2 separate regions of the Homo sapiens genome follow, and region 2 is linked to region 1. Evidence: promoter capture Hi-C in 16 types of primary human blood cells and fetal thymus (Javierre and others, 2016). All regions are on one chromosome and are shown on one strand. The core of a region is centred on a gene start or on the middle of the fragment in contact, and the rest is flanking DNA. Distances in the headings are between cores, read along the strand shown. Region 1 holds the start of BRWD1-AS1 (BRWD1 antisense RNA 1). Region 2 holds the start of PIGP (phosphatidylinositol glycan anchor biosynthesis class P).

Region 1 (6,874 bases), core at 182-2,681:
GCTGCCGAGACCCAGCCACATCCCCCACAAGCCAGCAGCCCGGCAGAAAATTACATAAAATGCAGCGCTTCGCCGAGGGGGTGCGAGTCGGGGGAGCAGCGCGCAGCTGCGGCTGACGGCTCGGCTGGATCCATCCAAGCATGGACAGGAAAACGGGACTGTGGGGAGAGGGTGGTGCAGACGGGCCGCAGACCCTCCTTAGGAAGAGAAGCCGGAAACTAGGGAGTCATGTGCAGTTAGAATCCTCTTGGAAGACTAGTAGGATGTGAGGTTGGAGAGGTGGACGACGACCAGAAAATTCCCTTGTCTTGCCAGGCTTCTGACCTAACTATGAGTTTCCTCCGCGCATCCAGCCTGCCCTGCTCTGGCCCCTAAAGTACAGCAGTAACACTCAGTGGTGTCCCTGCCTTCCTGGAATGCGCGTTAACAATTCTGATTCTTACTCATGGCAATAACCTACACACCACATAGACGTTAAATGTGGTTCGGGTCAGACTCTAGGGCAGGACTCACTGCCTGCACCTTGTCTTGGCTCCACCAGCTTGACCTTGAGCAAGTCACAACCTGTGGGTCTCAGTGTTCCTTACTAGTAAACCGTAGGTAATTCCTCACTAGTAAACAGATAATATTTGTGCCTGTCTCAAAGTTGTGAGGATTTAATGAATTTGTGTTCCTGGTATACAGTAAGCACCGTGTACAAGTTGGCTTTTATTTACACCAAATAGCAAAAGCTTTTATTTATTTTGAGACAGGGTCTTGCTCTCAGGCTGGAGTGCAGTGGCGCGATCTCACCTCACTGCAACCTCTGCCTCCCGGGTTCCAGCGATTCTTGTGCCTCAGCCTCCCGAGTAGCTGGAATTGCAGGCAAGCGCCACCACGTCCGGCTAATTTTTATATTTTTATATTTTTAGTAGGGACGGGTTTCACCATGTTGGCCAGGCTGGTCTCGAACTCCTGGCCTCAGGTGATCCACCCGCCTTGGCCTCCCGAAGTGCTGGGGATTACATGCATGAGCCACTGCGCCTGGCCAAAAGCTTTTATATATATTTATAAATGGACATAGATATCTGTGAGGCTGTCGGGTATGGTGGCTCACGCCTGTAGTCCCAAGCACTTTGGGAGGCCGAGGCAGGCGGATCACGAGGTCAGGAAATCAAGACCATCCTGGCCAACATAGTGAAACCCCCGTCTCTACTAAAAATAAAAAAATTAGCCAGGTGTGGCAGTGCGCGCCTCTAGTCCCAGCTACTTGAGAGGCTGAGGCAGGAGAATCGCTTGAACCCCGGAGGCGGAGGCTGCAGTGAACCGAGATCGCGCCACTGCACTCCAGCCTGGGCGACAAGGCGAGACTCCGTCTCCAAAAAAAAAAAGCTATTTGTGAGGTAACAATCTAAATATGTTTGAGCTAGTGCAACAGTAAGTTAACTCCTTACATCTGTTAATTCAGCAAGCACTAACAAGTGATGGAGATTAAAAAAAAAAAAGGAATGAGCCACAGCTTTGCCATCAAAGACTTCAGCGTCTCTTAGGGGAAACAGATGTAAGCAAATAATGACACGATTTAGGGCAGAGATATATCAGAAGATCAGCTTGCCTGTGCGTGGGGGAAATGTTAGGGAAGTTTGGGTTATCCAGGCTACAATGTGTGGAAAGGGATTTCGCACATACAAACAACAGAGGGCCAAGACATGAATATGATTTCTAGTTTAAGGAACCAGAAGTTTAGTATGACTACTTGGGGTGACTTTGGAGAGGATGGGACCATGATGTCAGAAGTTGAAATTGGGAGCAATTGAAAGATTCTAAGCCAGGAAGGAATCATTTTCTATTTTAGGATGGATTTGAGAAAGTTAAGACCAAGAGGCACTTAACATACCCCTGAAATAGAAAAGAAATGATGCATGAGGGCGTTGGTCATAAGGATAGAGAAGAGACAAGATCAGAAGTATGTAGGACAGTAAATCTGCAAGATGAAGTTGGGGTGAAATAAAAACCACAAAAATCTCGTTTGGGGCTTTCCAAGGTTGTGCCAACAAATAAGGTAGGGCATACAGGCTGGTAGCTAGATTGTTAAGATGAGTAACTGCTTGCAACAACTTGATTATTTGAAGTTACAGTGCATAGATGACTGTGGGACAGTGATCTGATGCTGCAAGATTACCAGTGTTACCAAATGACAAAGACATCAAGAGGGGAGAATTTAAACTTTCAATGATTGACCAAGGAGTTGTGCATTTCATTTTGTAACAAGGGCGTAAGATTAAAAACCCCCTAAAGATATTACAAGAATTTATATCCCAAGCTCTGGTCATTGTCCAAAATTATCGTTCTGATACTGGCACCATGATAACCATTACAAGAGATCAGAAATGATGACACGAGCCCAGACACAGTGGCTCACACCTGTAATCCCAGCGCTTTGGGAGGCCAAGGCCAGAGGACTGCTTGAGCCCAGGAGTTCGAGACCAGCCTGAGTAACATAGTAAGACCCCATCTCTACAAGAAATAAAAAATAGCCAGGGGTGGTAGGTGTGTACCTGTAGCCCCAGCTACTTAAGAGGCTGAGGCATGAGAATGGCTAGAGCCGGGGGGGATTGACGCTGCAGTGACCCATGATCACAGCACTGCTCTCCAGCCTAGGCAGCAGAGCAAGACCCTGTCTCAAAAAAAAGACACGATGACATGAGTTTTCCTTTACAAGAGCCTTGGGAGTCCTTTTACAACTTACTATCACATTCATGACAAATATTCTTTCTAAATTTTGAATAGGAACAAAGATTTCTAACAAGAGAGAGAATATCTTCCCGATTCGACTCCCATATGTCAAGAGACTCAGATGTGACTCATATTTGCCTGCCAGGAGGAGGAAAAAGAAATACACTGTCCAGGAGCAACTCCTTAGTGGGTACCCACCAGAAGTGGTCTCCAAACAAGGCAAGAATCTGTGTATTCCTCACACAATTCAATCCCAGCCATTCCATATGTACACACTGAGGTTTGCTTTTGGGTAAATGGAAATAACTTTAGAGTTTCACCACAAGAAAGCTACATGGTAAGCAAGTGTTGGAAAATCTTAACAGTGGGTGACATTAAGCTATAGGGTTGCATTTTCAAGGGAACCAACATCTTATGCCGTGGCAAGCAACTCCTGACTGGATAAACAGCTCTTAGATGTCATTGATAGGCTCAAGCTGAGGCGCAGAGGAAGTATGGCCCAAGGGCATATAGCTGGTAAGTGGTGGCTGGACTGCAATCCCAAGTAGACAGTATTATCTTAGACTGAAACACAAACACTGCAAAGTCCATTCTCCCTTGGCCACGTTTCACAAAAGAGGAAATGGGACCTGAAAATTAGGAGACTTACACAGGATTGCACAGCTAGCGCATCAGAGAGCTGACATTTGGAAGCCCACGTGATAAGTACGTGTGTAATCTCATTTACCGCAGGCAACTCTTAGATTCTGTTATTCCCATTTTAAGAATGAGGAAACTAGTCTGGGCGTAGTGGCTCTCGTCTGTGCTATCAGCACTTTGGAAGACCAAGGCAGGAGGACCGCATGAGCCCAGGAGTTCAAGGCTGGTCTTAAACATAGTGAGACCCTCTCTCTACAAAAAATTAAAAACTTAGTCCATGCATGGTGTTGGGTGACTGTAGTTTGAGCTATTTGGGGAGACTGAGGCAGGAGATCACTTGAGCCCAGGAGTTTAAGGCTGTCACAAGCTATGGTGGTACCACTGTGCTCCAGCCTGGGCAACAGAGCGAGACCCTGTCTCAAAAAAGAATGAGGAACTAAGGCTAATAAAGTTTAAGAATTTGCCTAAAAATGGAAAGCTTTTTTTTTTAATCTGTCTGTGAATGAGAGGAAAATAAAATTCAGTAAGGCCTTCCAAATCACCACTTAGGAAGCCCAACAACGTTAAATATGAATGCATATCTAGAAAATGGTGACCAAAGAAGTCTGGTTCCAACAATTCACATAAGAGAGTGGTCAAAATGGAATGAATTAGTAGATTAGAGTCCATTTCAAAAGACTCTGAAAAATGAGATAAGGAAATCTGTGAGCAATGGAGAACATGCAAAACAACTCAGATACCTAATCCAAAGCCTAATATTAGTTTTAATGCAAATTTGTGTTAACTGAATTTAGGTTCATTCAGGAGGCTGTGCTGATGTTGATGTACACACAACATCAGCATACCTCTGAAGGGCAGGAAGTAGATGACGTTGGACCTCCAGAACACTATACCACAAACTGGATCAGCACCTAGAGGTGAAATTAAATGCACACAAAAACCTGGATCACTTCATTCATTCATTCAACAAAATATGTGTTAAAAGTCTTCCCTGGCTCCTGGGCTGTTTTTTGTTTTGTTTTTTTCCGCTTTAGAGACAGTATGTCATTCTGTCACACAGGCAGGAGTGCAGTGGTACAGTCAGAGCTCACTGCAGCCTCGCAGTCCTACCGCTGAGTACTTGAGACTACAGGTGTGCACCACCATGCCTGGCTAATTTTTTACTGTTTTTTAGAGATGCGGGTCTTGCTCTGTTGCCCAGGCTGGTCTCAAACTCCTGGCCTCAAGTGATCCTCCCGCCTTGATCTTCCTGGACTTCTGTTGGATAAATTCCCTAGGAAGAGGAGAGTTAACACTTCGATAGATTTTATTTATTTATTTATTTTTTAGAGACAGGGTCTCACTGCATTGCCTGGCCTTAAGTGACCCTCCTGTCTTGGCCTTCCAAAGTGCTGGGATTACAGGCGTGAGCCACCACACCTGGACTTTGATCGATTTTTGGAGGACTTTCAAAGTAAAAATGAAGAAGGTATCTGATCTTTTGATAAGCCCTTAGTCACTAGTAGATATTATATTGCATTTAATTCCTGATGCCCTTCCTCCACCTACTAGTGGTGTCATCTTTCCCACAGGACCTTTTCTTCCTTTTAAGTCTAACCCAACCAGCTGTCCCCTTAATGCTACTTGTCCCTGCCTTCCTCAGCAAATTGTTTCCACATTTATCTCTTCCCTCTCCAACTTCTGCCTCTCCCTTGCCATTGGCTTCTGTCCTATTTGTTCCCAGCTTGCAGGCGCTGGCCCATGTCTGTCTCCAAGTCTTACTCGTTCTTACTTTGAAACATTTCTCACAGCACTAGAGAAAACACAGTGTGGTTGGACAAGACCTTGGGAACATGGGAGCTGGGATCAGAATGTGTCTGTGTTTGGATGTCGGAGTTGGGCAACCTCTTGGCTCGGATATTTTTCTGTTCGTTTTGTTTAATAATCTTTAAAATAAGCATGACAACTAATAACATTTATTGGATATGTTTGTATGCTGGACACTGTCCTAAATCATTTCCATGCATTATTTAAGGATCATGAGACAGCTAGAGGTGTTTGTGAGCATTTCCAGAGAGCATGCCTGTGAAGCTCGCTGAACAATGCCCAGCTCTCAACATGACCCTGTTATATAAGAATAATTCTTTTTCTCTCCATTCCCACTTAGTTCAGGCCCTCAATCATCAACAAGCATCCTCCTTAAAGTTCTCCCTGACTCTCCACCTAATTAATCCTGTCATTTTATTTTTTTCTTTTCATTTATTTATTTTTATTTTCTTTGCCACTTCTGTATCTTCTTTGGAGATAATCCTGTCACTACTTTTAAAAACCTTAAGTGCAACTTAACATATTGCTTCCCTGTTCACGTCTTTCTCATTCGCTGTCACCTCAAACCCAAACTCCTTGGCTTGCTTTTAACACTGTGGAGGACATTCTACTCTCCTCCCTCCCTGCTCCACACCCAGGAAAGATGACTGTGCAGTAAAGCCATGGCTCGCTTGCCCTTGAGTTTCCAATGGGATTCATCTGGTAAGAGGCCTCAGCCAGAGATGGAAGGGTGGGAGGAGAGTGAGGTTGGAGTTTCCATTTTCCCAGCTCCTTTCCTGCCAAGCCACAGGTTGATAGTAACTGCTATTTGTGTGCATATAGAGACCCTCTCTTTGCACATAGAGACCCTCTCTGGGCTTTAAGACCACTGCCTCCCCTGCCCCTTAAGGAGTTGGGCTTCCCTTTTTTTTCTTGTTGAAACAGTGTCTCAGTCTGTCATCCAGGGTGGAGTGCAGTAGTGCAATCACGTCTCACTGCAGCCTCGATCTTTCAGGCACAATTGATCCTCCCACCTCTGCCTCCCAGGTAACTGGGACTACAGGCACCCACCACCACAACTGGCTAGTTTTTGCATTTTTTCTACAGACGGGGATTCACCATGTTGTCCAGGTTGGTCTCGAACTCCTGGGCTCAAGCAATCCTCTGGCTCAGCTTCCCAAAGTGCTAGGATTATAGGTGTGACTACCATACCCAAGCCGTTAATCTCTTTTCAAAAACCTTAGAGTCATATCTTTTTTTTTTTTTTTTTTTTTGAGACAGAATCTTGCTCTCTTGCCCAGGCTGGAGTGCAATGGCATGATCTCGGCTCACTACACCCTCCGCCTCCCAGGTTCAAGCAATTCTGCCTCAGCCTCCCCAGTAGCTGGGACTACAGGTGCACACCACCACATCCAGCTAATTTTTGTATTTTTAGTAAAGACAGGGTTTTACCATGTTGGCCAGGCTGGTCTCGAACTCCTGACCTCAGGTGATCCACTTGCTTTGGCCTCCCAAAGTGCTGGGATTACAGGCGTGAGCCACATGCCTGGCCAGAGTCATAACTTTTATATCATACATGCAACTCATCAGTAAACCATCCAATTAGCTTACCTTCAAAATGTATCCAGAATCTAAGCACTTCTCATCCGGAAGAGCACCACAACCTCTTATGTCTTACTGCTTCTACCTTCATCCTATTTCTGTGTATTCTCAGGCAGCTGGAGGGATCCTGTTA
Region 2 (6,874 bases), core at 1,946-4,445, 2.2 Mb before region 1:
AAATCATGGCTTAGCAATTGTTGTAATCCTTATTACCTAGCAGTTTGCTTTAGGTACAGTAAGTGTTCAATACTTCATCCCCACAAGGTTGAAGTAATTATAGACATTTAATTGCTCAAAGGGAAATTTACCTACCCTAGTTCTCATCCACCACATACTGAGCTTCTGCCCTATCTCCCAGAGTACAATGTTATTTCCCTCAATCCGAAATCTCGGCACTCTTTACTGTTATCCCACGATAACAACAATGGCTAAGTTCTGAGCACTCACTGTGGGTTAAGCACAGTTCCAAGCATTCTGTATGCATTAAGATAATCCTCCAAGACAATCCTCCAAGGCAAGTATGCAATTTTAAATGATGAGGAAATGGAAGCTTAGAAAGGATACATCACCTACCCAAGGTAAGCGGCAAAGATAAATTTTAACTACCTACTACATCAGTGATGATGCATTCTTTTCTTAACAAATATGTATTACAGAATTCTGTATGTCAGGTGTGTGAGACACAATATTGAATCCAAAAGAGATGGCTTCTGCCCTCCCTAAACTTAAAATCTAGTGGTGAATAGAGAAAATTGGTATTTTCACTACATTGTTACAAGTGCTCACGAATGAGTAATAAAAGATGACATAGAAGCACATTAGAAGGCCCTCCTTCCACTTCGTATCCTCCTTCCCTTTGCTTAATTTCTCCCCATAGTACGTTATCACCTGATACTATATACGTTTTTCTTATTTAACTTGCCCATTGACTATCTCCCCCCGGCATGAGAATGAAGACTCAAAGCAGGGCATTTTTGGCTGTTTTGGTCCTTCCTGGCCTGTAACAGTGCCTGGCACATGGTAAGCACCAATAAATACTTGAATTACTTTTTGGTTGTGGGTATGATGGAATTTAATTTTGTTTTGAGACAGTTTCGCTCGTTGCCCAGGCTGGAGTGCAAAAGTGCAATCTCAGCTCACGGCAACCTCCGCCTCCCGGGTTCAAGCGATTCTCCTGCCTCAGCCTCCCGAGTAGCTGGAGTTACAGGCATGCGCCACCATCCCGGCTAATTTTGTATTTTTAGTAGAGACAGGGTTTTTCCATGTTGGTCTGGCTGGTCTCAAACTCCCGACCTCAGATGATCTGCCTGCCTCGGCCACCCAAAGTGCCGGGATTACAGGCGTGAGCCACCAGGCCGGCCAGAATTTAAGCCTTAAAGTGATTGCTTTTATTTATTCATATAGCTTCTAATCCTTGACATACTCTTTGAACAAGGATTTACAAAAGTGCTAACAATAACATCAGTAGCTAACACTTATTAAGTCCCTAACTGTTCCTAGGCATTATTTTACGTGCTTTACATAAATTACCCCCGTTAATCCTCACAACAGTCAGAAGAGGCAGCAGAGTGAAGTCAGCCAGTGTATTTGGGTTCAAATTTAGAAGGCTTTTATTTAGTAGCTTTGCAATCTTGAGCAAGTTACTGAAACCACAGGATGCTCATCTTTAAAGGACAGTAATAACAGAACCTACCCCATAGAACTGTTTCATGCGTCATAAGCATTTAATAACCATCATTATCACTACCCTTTTACAGATAAGGAACCTGAGGCTCAAAAAATTTGCTGAGGGTCCCAGCTCACATGGCTAATCTGTGGAGGAGTCAGAATTCGAACTCAGTTGTAACTTCTTCACTTCACTTCAGTTTTAATAGCCTGGCCATTACATTCATCTGCAAGCTGTGCTGATGGTGCAGGCTGATATATTTTAGTTAGGGTTCAGAAGTACTACCACTCCTCCACTTTCCTGGTTTCCAAACAGTTGCAGAACGTTGGATCACGGGCACTCAATTTTCTCCCTTTTGTGTGCCTCAAAATTCTCAAATCATTTTGGGGAGAGACTTGGGACTTGCTGTGTGAGTGGGCATATTAGTGTCTTAGTGAGCATCAGTCTCCTTATCTGTAAAATGGAATGTTATGGGGTTAAATTAAGGGAGATCCAGGACGCAAACGACACACCTTTCAACCCGACTTCTCTGGCCTACTTCTCCTGTTCCCCAGATCCCGCAGGGCACACTGGTGACATCACAAGCTCCTCGGGTCCAAACCCTCTCACGCCCTCATTCAAGGCCTTTCCACTTCTTCCCTCCCTCTTACTCTTTCCTAATCAGCATCAGTGCCAGGGGGAAAGGCCTCTGTAGAAAGCCTTGACTTTCCAGTCTGGTTTCAATGTCTCTCCACCGTGCTCCCTGACACTCATCACACTGAGCATTAACTGTAGATTTACCCATCTGTCTCCTCCACAAGACCACGACCTCCTTAAGGGCAGGGACCAGGCTTTATCCACTTTGCCATCGCGTCTGGTGCTGTATAAATATTTGTAGAGACTAAAACCTCCTAGGCTAGTGCTGGCACACGGAACACTCAGCAAACACGAGATCCCTTCAGATTTTCTTAAAAAGAGACATAGGGAGAAAGAATCAACAGTTCATGTGTGCACAGTCTAACCAATGTATTCTTCCCTTGTCACTGAACGCCAGAAAAAGCCCCTGGCCATCCATCAGGAAAGTACTTACTGAAGCCAAATTGGGAGCTTAAGAAAAGAACAAAGCCATAAATCGCTCTTTCTGGCAATGGCGACGGTGAATTTTCCACCATTTTTCCTGGGGCTTTAGACAATCTGTGGAAAAGGAACACAATCAGCGTCAGCGATGTGCTCCGTGGCACCATTGATCCATTCTCGCCTCCTCGCTCCGCCGCGGGTACGGCCCCCGCCGCGCAGAACCGCCTCCCGCGCCTCCGTCCGCAACCCGCGCCCCCGCCTCGAGCGCATACAGACACCCAGGCTGGCGCGCGCCCCGCAACAGAAGGGGTGGCGGAGGATAGGGCAGGGAGGGGGGTTCTGGGGCGATAGACGCGCGCTCCAGCTCTGCAAGCGTGGCCTCCCTGTGGGAGGGGAGGGCAGGGAACAAGGCTCGCGCGGCGCCCACCAGCATGCGGGCCTACTAGGTCGCGGCGCCCAGGCCCCGGGCCCTGCCCATTCGTGGAGACTTCTATTTCTCATTCGAGGCGGGGTATGGGGGGGCCCTCGACCTCGGGTCCTTCATACGCCCACCCAGGCCCCTCCCGACACCTCGGCCACCTCAGCGCTGAGTTCTCCGCGCAAGCGCCGACTGGGGAGCCGCAGTGGGGAAGAGGAAAACCTGAGGGAAAGGCCTAGGCGCGACGGCAACCCCCACCCTGGCGCAGGCGCACAACGACCCTCCCCGGGTGGGAGCCAGCGAGCGCGGGGGCGGGCGTGATCCCGCGGCTCGCGACGGCGAAGGAGGGGGCGGTGGGGTGCGACTGCGCACGCGCGCTGCCAGCCCACGTGACGCACCTCGCTTCAACGCCGCCACCCGCTCCCTCCCGCCGTCGGCTGACGTGGAGGGCCGGAGGTGGCGGCGGCGGCGGCGGCGGCTGCTGCTGCTGCTGCCCGCGTCCGAGGCTCGCGGGCGGCGGGCCCGGGTGAGTGCACACCCGGCGCGCTGCCGGGCTCCCGGATGTGTCACCTTGTCCCGCTGCAGCCGAGATGCCGGGGGAGCGGGGCCTTCCACACCCCCTCCGTGGGTGTGTGGTGAGTGTGGGTGTGTGCGCGTCTCCTCGCGTCCCTCGCTGAGGTGCCTACTGTGTCTGCATGGGTTGGGTCCCGCGCGATGAGGGGGTGTGGCCGCCATTGCCTACCCCAGTGGGTTTGCCCCCTTGGTCTGGTGCCCCTTCGCGAGCGAGGCCCTGGGATGCCGGTGCGAGGGTGTGAGTAGTCCCTTTGTGCGCAACCCCCCGCTGCCCGTGCCTCGGCCGGTGCGTGGCTGACACCTCCGCTGGGTGGAGGCGCTCGCGTGTCGCCTCGTCGCCCCTTTTGTGTCGGTGTCCGCGCTCCCTGGCGGCTGCGTGGGCGCTCTCGGCCTTGCAGGTGGCCCCCCTTTGTGTTACTGCCCCTGTCTGTGGGCTGCGCGTCCCCTAGCGCGCGTGGCCGCGCCTTCTGCAATTGCGACCCCCGCCTAGAGCCTTGCTCGCGCAAGTGTGCGTCCTTGCGTGTCTCCGAGTGACGCAGAGTGTCTGCGCATGGGTCCTGTTGAGTGCGTGATCTCTTGTGTGCGGATTTAATTCTGTCGAGTGGGTATCTCTTGTGTGCAGGTTTCGTTGGTGAGCGTGAACGTTCGTGCACACCCCTTGCTGTGTGTGCGTGTCACGACTCTGTTGCCACCTGTTTTCGTGTGAACTGGCAGTCCAGTCCAGGGCCTGTCCCCACGGAACGGACCCAGGAGGGGGGTAACCTCGCCGCTCCCCTCGCCCCCGCGCCTCTTTCTGAGCATTCTCTCCCACAGACGCTAATGGGAAGGGGGGTGGACAGGATCGAGTCTGGCCAGCTGCTCCGCAGTGTTGACGCTGCCAGTGTGGCCTCTTCAGCCAGCCTGTTCAGGAGACAGAATAGGGGGATCAAAGATAAAAAATGAAGCCGAGACGTAGGTGAATTTGGGCTGGTACCAGTGCGCCGTGCCTTTTCCAGTGGCGCCCTGGACGCCAAAACCCCCTCAGTTGCAGAGACCTTTCAAAATATATGCACTCTCCTACTGGGCGATGCGGTCCTTAGGCGTTCTTGATGATATTTAATGGTTTATAGAGTATTTTATGGCATTCACCTAAATCTCTTTCCATTTTGCCCAAGATCCTGGCGAGGGAAACAAGGTAGAAATTTTACAGATTTTACTCCTCCGGAGAGAGCCTTTTCCTTATAACTACGACTCTAGTTAGGACATTTTTTGTTGCAAGAAATTTGCGATTTATCCTAAGGAAAATGGGATATAGTATAAGGATACCTAGGGTAAGAAACTTCAAACCCCTTAGAGACCCAGCTACTGCTCCGATTGCTCAAGGTTTCGTGCTCTGCGCTCAAGGGCTGCGTTTTGGTGTCTTTGTTCTGCCCAATTTTCTTATTGTCTAATTTTCCTTTTTTTCTTTTAATTTTTGGAATATTTCAGATATCAAATACAGAGGGGGAGCTAACCAATCCATGATTCAGATTTTACAGACGTGATTATTTAATCTTTTGCCAAATTTACTTCAGATACTCTTTTTTTTTAAAGAAATAAAATTGCTCTCAGTTCCTTCCCCTCCTTTTCTAGAGATAGCCACTGCGTTGAGGTTTGTGTATATCTTTACTTTGCATATTTTATACTTTGATCAAGGTGAATCCATACACAATATATATTATTGTTTGTTTTTAAACTTTAATGGCATTAAAATATACATGCCTTTTTGCAACTTGCTTTTTTTTTTTTTGCTCAGCATCATATTTTGAGGTTTATATATGAACAAATTGAATGATTGTGTTATCTTTGGTTCATTCATTTTAATTGCTGGTATAGAATTGCGTTGTATGAATATACCATATTTATTTATACATTCCCCTGTTGATAGACTTTGAACTTGTTTCAGTTTTTGACTCTTAAAAACAGTCCTGCAATAAATATCTTTGTACTTGTCTGCTTGTGCACACATTTGGAAGTTTCTGTAGGAAGTACACCTAAGTAGTAGATTTGCCGGATTGTAGGCTATGTGCGTCTTCAATTTAACCAAGTATCACAGAAGCTCTCGAAGTGGTTGTACCAATTTTCACTGTCACTGGTGTTGAGTGAGAACACAATTTCCTCACAACCCTGCTAACACTTTATGTTATGAGACTTTACATTTTTGCCATCTCTTTACTGACCAGCTTCCTTATGACTTTTGGTTGCTGCTAAATTTGCTTGTAGCCACCTTGGCTTCTCTTGTAGCCCTGTGTCAGCCTATGGATTTATCTCTTATAGCTAATTGGCTTAGTCTTTATCTCCTTTGGTTCTCATAAGATTAATTCCAATGAACATTTGTTGTATACCTAATGTATGTCAGATCCTATGATTGATGTATAGATAGAATTTCCATGATATGTTAAATATGTACCTCTTTAGTGGCAGGTGAGGTGATTTAATTAAAAGTATTTTTTTTCTTATGATGAATGTTTAAAAAATTTTTCTTTTCCTCTCCATTTTATTGTAGTATTTGATAAATTCAAAATATATGTAAAACATATGCAAGCTGTATAGCAGAACAATAAAATGAACACCTATGAATTCACCACTCAATCCAATAATCAAAATGACCAGTATTGAATGTGCTTACTTCCAGAGGTGACTACCATCCTGAATTGTGTATATTATGCCTTGTTTTTAAAAATAATTTTATCAGATATGTATACATCCCTCAAAAATGTATTGTATGGTTTCTGTTGTTTTTGAGTGGAAAAAATCATATTGGGTATAGTTTCCTGGGACTTGCTTATTTCACTTGATGTTATGTTTCTGAGTTACTAATATTGGGTATAGATGTAAGTCATTAATTTTCACTGCTGTGTAATATTCCAAGTGTGAATATAACACAGTGTATGCATTCTTCTGTTAATGGGCATTTTGGTTGTTTCTAGGTTTTGCTGTTATGAAGTTATATACTTTTTGGTTCACAGTTGTAAGAATTTTTCTAATTTTCACACTGGGGTATATGAGCCCCAGAGGAGTAATGAAGATTTGCTAAGGAATGTGTGGGTACAAATGATGTTAATGAATCAGTTTCTAGATCATTACATTCCATAGGTACTCTTTCCTAAAAATGGTAATGCCTGAGGCCTCCTGCTAGTGCTACTTTCTTACCTTGTGTTTCTAACATTGCACTTTACATAAGACAGGCAAACCACAGGTTCTTGTGGAATCTTACTATGGCATTGCCCAAAGGGGGAAAACTCCCTTGGGGAAAACAAAGGGATTTTTTTTTTTTTTTTTTTTTTTTTTGAGTGAAGTTTTGCTCTTTTTGCCCAGGC

What was found. Contacts are between HindIII fragments. The CHiCAGO score rates a contact against its expected background, and 5 or more counts as called.
Region 2: a contact is called between the fragment with the promoter of PIGP here and the fragment with the promoter of BRWD1-AS1 in region 1, in 2 of 17 cell types (monocytes and erythroblasts). The highest score is 14.6, in monocytes.

What each region holds. Positions count from the first base shown.
Region 1 is chr21:39,314,276-39,321,149 of GRCh38, forward strand. BRWD1-AS1 (BRWD1 antisense RNA 1) reads left to right here and starts at 1,432. Exons shown (of 3, transcript NR_046655.1): 1 at 1,432-1,540; 2 at 2,770-2,934. It overlaps BRWD1-AS2 (BRWD1 antisense RNA 2), which reads left to right. Exons shown (of 1, transcript NR_111942.1): 1 at 1-640. It also overlaps a transcript of BRWD1 not described here. RefSeq lists enhancers at 150-845, 846-1,540. The HindIII fragment of the contact is 2,798 bases long and covers 1,033-3,830 here.
Region 2 is chr21:37,069,876-37,076,749 of GRCh38, forward strand. It overlaps PIGP (phosphatidylinositol glycan anchor biosynthesis class P), which reads right to left and starts at 3,196. Exons shown (of 5, transcript NM_153682.3): 1 at 3,125-3,196; 2 at 2,559-2,662. The coding sequence starts at 2,640. It overlaps TTC3 (tetratricopeptide repeat domain 3), which reads left to right and starts at 3,379. Exons shown (of 46, transcript NM_001330683.2): 1 at 3,379-3,598. RefSeq lists silencers at 2,667-2,946, 3,187-3,506, 3,727-3,786 and an enhancer at 3,094-3,388. The HindIII fragment of the contact is 9,103 bases long and covers 372-6,874 here.